2 separate regions of the Homo sapiens genome follow, and region 1 is linked to region 2. The links are contacts of gene promoters, found by promoter capture Hi-C in human tissues and cell types (Jung and others, 2019). All regions are on one chromosome and are shown on one strand. Each heading gives the region's core, a stretch centred on a gene start or on the middle of the fragment in contact. The rest is flanking DNA. Distances are from core to core; before and after follow the strand shown. Region 1 overlaps LOC105375199 (a long non-coding RNA gene). Region 2 holds the start of HOXA1 (homeobox A1).

Region 1 (2,910 bases), core at 292-2,791, 1.1 Mb after region 2:
GGCACTGGGGCTTACAACAGCAACATCTTTTGGGGAACCTATCCAACCCATAACAGGAACCATAGGTGAAGGCATGTGTATTCATTTTCTACTGCTGTGCAGCAAGTTGTCACACATAGTTAGCAACTTAAGAGGCAATTTGATTATCTCATAGTTTCTGTGGGCCAGGAGTCCAGGCATGGCTTAACAGGGTCCCCTACTCAGTCTCACAAGGCCACAATCAAAGTGTGGCCTTGAATGTGTTCTCATCTGGAGGGTCTAGGGAAGAATCGGCTTCTAAGCTCATGCAAGTTGTTGGAACAATTCAGCTTCTCGGTACTGCTTGATGGACGGTCCTGGCTTCGTCCTGGCTCTCAGCGGGAGGAGCCCACAGGTCCCTGCCTCCAGGCCCTCTCCATGGGTGGCTCACAATGTGCAAGTTTGCTTCTTCAAGGCTCAGGAGAGAGTCTGTCTCTCTCTGACTCCAGATGGAGTTGCTCATACGCTCTTTCTCTTGCTCTCTTTCTTGCTTACTCTCTCTCTCTTTCCAATGATGGCAGTGACATATAGTCACAGGTTCTTCCCGTCCTGAAGAGGAGGGGCTTATACATGGTGTGACTCATTGGAGGTCACCTTAGGGTGTGTCTGCCACAGTAGGTATGTTGCTTCCTTGGCCTCCCCAACTTACATATAGCAGCTGTGTTCTATTTCTGTCTTTCAGATTCCATGAAATCCACCAGGGAAAGGGTTGGGTGGTGGTGGTGGTGTTGTATGCTCAAGAGACTCAGTGGCCCCACAGGAGAGCATCATTTAAAAAATTAAACTCTAATGATTTTAACTTAATATTCAACTGTGTGAAGCATTCAAATGCAATACTTAGATTGTATTTTTTCAAAAGCAACATTTGATGTTGAAATAACTATACAGGAATTGTAATAATAATAGCTGATATTATTAAGTGCTGACCACATGCCAAGCACCATTCTAATACACTTAGGTTATGGTATCTCATTTCATCCCCACAACTAGCCTATGTGATGGGAACTATTATTATTCCTATTTTACAGATGATGATATTGAGGTATAGAGGGGCCAATAAAAGCCCCACCATAGGTAGCAGTTTGAAGATGGGAGGTTCAAATCTCCAACCCCCGCAGATTACTTGATGGCAAAACCCACATACTGAAATATGAAGGTTGGCTGGCTGCCCTTGGGTAGCTGTTTCTCAAAGGGTTAGGATGAACACACCTAGCATTTGTCTCTGGGATTCTCTTTTCTTCAAACTTTCCTGCTGATTGATCTATTCTTTATGAATGATTAAGTCATTCAAATGACAGAAAGAGGTATAAAACTAACTTACAAGACAAAAGCTGCTCATTCATACTTAGGTATTTTTCATCTGGCATTGGAGAGATTCCAGTGATTCTCTATATTGAAGCATCTTTAGTTTTACTTTATCCAACTTCGACTCTCCTGGCTTGTTTTGCTTGTGTCTACTCAAGTTTGGCAATATTTGAGAGTACTGTCAGCAGTCTCGCTCAGTAGTTTAAATGTCTGCGAATATAGAATAATATTTTATTTTATAAAAACGATGGCAATAAGCAAGAACCGAAAGTTATAATTTCCACAAAAATGTTTGCAACCACAGAATTTTTTGAGAGTATTTTTGTATTTGTGAAGTGTATGATAGTGATCATACTAGTGACCTAAGATTCATTGATCCTCAGAAGATCCGTGTCATAAAGTTGGCCACCTCCCTGCTGGCTGACATCCCCGGACATCTGTGCTTTGACTCAGATCCTAGTTTGTCATCCATTTTTGGTGTGAAATCTCAATGAGAAAGAGCCAACCATTAAAATTGTATGTCAAATTCTAGTATTTTTTATTACATACATACCGTTTCTCTGGGTAACATTTTCTGATTCACAAAATTTGAGTAATGGGCTTGTTAGTCTCTTACATATATGGTTATAATGAATTAATTCAGGATATGCTTACAGACCTGAAAGTTTTGCAAGACAAAAGCAACAAAGTTTTTGTTTTTCTGTAAATAATGACTGGAGACAATATATTTTCAAATTAGTAAAATGTCATTTCAGGTGCTGCAAGTTTTCCATGATCATTTATACATCTGCTAATTAAGCCTCAGCTACATAATATATTTTTTAAAAGAAGAAATTAAAATTCTTATGGTATTTATACACCAGCAAAAAAAAAAGAAAAACCTGCTTCTTGGTGCTGAGAGACACAGGTTTTATTACTAGGCATTTGGTAATGCCTAAAAATTAATCTCACTATTGCCTTTATTACCCAATCAAAATTGTATCATCCTCCCTTTTTCTTTCCCTGCCCACTTATCATTTCAAGGAGAAGGAAAATAGAAAATAGTTTGCAGTTGTCAGCTGCCATGTTCTTTAAGTCCAAGTCCGTGGTCCGAGCCTGCCCATCTGACACTGGCTTCTCTCTTCTCCCACCTCCTCTCCCTATTCTTTTTTTCCCCTTTCTGGATTCTTGAAGATTTAAAGGGTAGAATAGTTTCTCGGATTCTAAAATTGCATCCTGTGGTAAGAAAAAATAATTAATCTTTTATGCAGCATATTGTTAAGAGAAGTACTTACTTTTCTTTAAAAAGTTTACCATAAACAGGCCGGGCATGGTGGCTCATGCCTGTAATCCCAGCACTTTGGGAGGCTGAGGCGGGCAGATCATGAGGTCAGGAGATCGAGACCATCCTGGTTAGCATGGTGAAACCCCGTGTCTACTAAAAATACAAAAAAATTAGCCAGGCGCGGTGGCAGGCACCTGTAGTTCGAGCTACTTGGGAGGCTGAGGCAGGAGAATGGCGTGAACCCAGGAGGCAGAGCTTGCAGTGAGCAGAGATAGGGCCATTGCACTCCAGCCTGGGTGACAGAGCAAGACTCTGTCTAAAAA
Region 2 (2,742 bases), core at 200-2,699:
CTCAGGGAAGTAGGGTGATGAGGAACAGGACCCCTGGCCTGGGATGAGGCTCAGATTTGCATGTGTCTCTCTAGGGAAGGACTTGAAGGTTCTCATAAGCAACTACACAGCCAGTTGGAAAGGGGAGGAGGTGTCGTTGGGGTAAAGTGTCCCGTCCACCATCAGCCATTTGTCCACCGCCCCTCCCACCTGCCAGCCCCCACACCCACTCTAGACGTGCAGCAGAATGAGGAAGGTTATAAAAGGAAGCTCTCTCTCTCTTCTAACATTCCCCTCCAGAAAAAGAGGAACGCAACGAAGGGAGTTCAGCTACTATGTTGGAGCTGTGGACCGGCCCTGTGAGGCCCACGCGGGAGCGCGGAGGCTCCTGGGTCTCAGGGCGCCGGCAGATGGCCTGCAGCGCACCGCCCGGCCCCCGCGCTGGCCACGTCCGCCAGCGTCATCTCTCTCCCCCGCCTCCTACCCCTAAAAATCCGGCGGTCGAGTAGCTCCGCATCCCGGAGGGCTCCCGGTGCAAAACTGAGTGGGAAAGAGAAAGGGGCGGAGAGCGACGAGAGAGGGAAGGTGGGGAAGAAGAGCCCGGCCGCCCCCGGCCTTTTCCGGCGAGCTCTGAGTTTCCAGGGCTCATCCGCCCCTCCAAGTCGAATTACAGAAACTCCTCATTGCCATGCTAATGACGAGAGGGGCTGTGGGGAGAGGGTTTCGAAGACCCTCCTGGAAGAAGGGAAGTTTCTTTTCTTGCCCTCGTCTCCTTCACGCCCACCCGAGTTCCTCCCAGCCAGCCCTCTGCGCTCTTCCCCCTCCATTCCGAGCTTGAAGAGCCGGTGGCCCAGCCTCGCCCTCCACCACGGTTCTATGCGCTCCTCACAGCCCCACGGTCTCCCAGCCCAGCCTCAGAACAGAGGAGGTGGCCTGGGAACCCGGGGCGCGGTGTCAGCCGGATTCCCCGCCTTCCGGCTGGGCGCGCTGCGGGCTGGGCCGGCGTACTTGCGGCCACCCGGCGAGCTCTGGCCCACTGATTCCCGCCCCGAGAGAGCCGGGAGCCCTCTTCCCTTCTCACCTCTCGCCAGTTCATCTTTCATTGAACGGTGGGGAGGGGGCGGGAGCGGGGGACGCCTCCCAGCCCCCACCTCCCGGAGGCCTGGCGGGGCGGGCAGCGGAGTCGGGCGCGCGCAGAACGCAGCTTTTGCTCTTCTTCGCTCCAGCACTCCAAATCGGCCTTTGCAGTCGCCGCAGCAGCTGCCGCCGCCTAGGCTGCCTGGGGGGGCGACTGCGCGTCACCTAGACGGCGGAGCGCCGGGGATTTAAATGCCACTAAAACGGTGATCCATCACTGCGGAAGCCGGCAAACTTTTGCAGGAGGCTCAGCCATTGGCTGACACCGTCACGTGCCCCTCCTCCAGCGTCCTCCGCCCTCCCGCCCCCCCTCTTGCGCACTGTACATTCATATCATTTTTCTTCTCCGGCCCCATGGAGGAAGTGAGAAAGTTGGCACAGTCACGCCGGGCTTCGCAGGACCAGGTCACTCAGTGACAGATGGACAATGCAAGAATGAACTCCTTCCTGGAATACCCCATACTTAGCAGTGGCGACTCGGGGACCTGCTCAGCCCGAGCCTACCCCTCGGACCATAGGATTACAACTTTCCAGTCGTGCGCGGTCAGCGCCAACAGTTGCGGCGGCGACGACCGCTTCCTAGTGGGCAGGGGGGTGCAGATCGGTTCGCCCCACCACCACCACCACCACCACCATCGCCACCCCCAGCCGGCTACCTACCAGACTTCCGGGAACCTGGGGGTGTCCTACTCCCACTCAAGTTGTGGTCCAAGCTATGGCTCACAGAACTTCAGTGCGCCTTACAGCCCCTACGCGTTAAATCAGGAAGCAGACGTAAGTGGTGGGTACCCCCAGTGCGCTCCCGCTGTTTACTCTGGAAATCTCTCATCTCCCATGGTCCAGCATCACCACCACCACCAGGGTTATGCTGGGGGCGCGGTGGGCTCGCCTCAATACATTCACCACTCATATGGACAGGAGCACCAGAGCCTGGCCCTGGCTACGTATAATAACTCCTTGTCCCCTCTCCACGCCAGCCACCAAGAAGCCTGTCGCTCCCCCGCATCGGAGACATCTTCTCCAGCGCAGACTTTTGACTGGATGAAAGTCAAAAGAAACCCTCCCAAAACAGGTCAGTCCTGCTGGTTGGTGGATGCTCCTTGATTATTCTGGAAGGAGCTGGTATGCTTAATTTCCAAGGAAATTAATAATGATCTTTTTTTTAAAAGGCTTTTGTATCAGACTAGTGTTGTAGTGCATGGAGAGGGTGCCCAGAGGTGTTGGGGCAAAGAAGTCTCAGGGATTGGTGTGTTTTCAAGGATTTTATACATTTGGGAAATAGGAAGTATGTGGGGGTGGTTATTGTGACGGTAGTGTTCTGTTAATATCTTGAGGCTCCATTAATCACCGGTCTGACCATGCTAATGGTTTACATCAGGTTAACACTTTACACCTCATCACTCACCCTCCACAGCCCGATTTGTGCTGAGTTCTTGATCTTTTCTTTACCTGAGTGTTGCCATGAAGCGTGTGGGGAATCTCAAGTCGATTTAAAAATTTTTACATTTCCGTCTCATGGCTTCCCACTTTGCCCCAGGGAAAGTTGGAGAGTACGGCTACCTGGGTCAACCCAACGCGGTGCGCACCAACTTCACTACCAAGCAGCTCACGGAACTGGAGAAGGAG

The links. Contacts are between HindIII fragments. The study calls those that stand out against the background at their distance.
Region 1: a fragment that was not itself captured here is called in contact with the fragment with the promoter of HOXA1 in region 2 in 1 of the 25 tissues and cell types used here (dorsolateral prefrontal cortex).

The regions. Positions count from the first base shown.
Region 1 is chr7:25,977,509-25,980,418 of GRCh38, reverse strand. All of the region lies in intron 6 of LOC105375199 (a long non-coding RNA gene), which reads left to right. Among named protein-coding and RNA genes, the nearest start is that of MIR148A, 29 kb to the right of the region's middle. The HindIII fragment of the contact is 7,060 bases long and covers 1-2,910 here.
Region 2 is chr7:27,094,707-27,097,448 of GRCh38, reverse strand. HOXA1 (homeobox A1) reads left to right here and starts at 1,449. Exons shown (of 2, transcript NM_005522.5): 1 at 1,449-2,188; 2 at 2,654-2,742. The coding sequence starts at 1,537. HOTAIRM1 (HOXA transcript antisense RNA, myeloid-specific 1) reads right to left here and starts at 1,355. Exons shown (of 2, transcript NR_038367.1): 1 at 1,061-1,355. RefSeq lists enhancers at 487-1,059, 1,185-1,479, 2,361-2,742 and a silencer at 963-1,132. The HindIII fragment of the contact is 6,318 bases long and covers 1-2,742 here.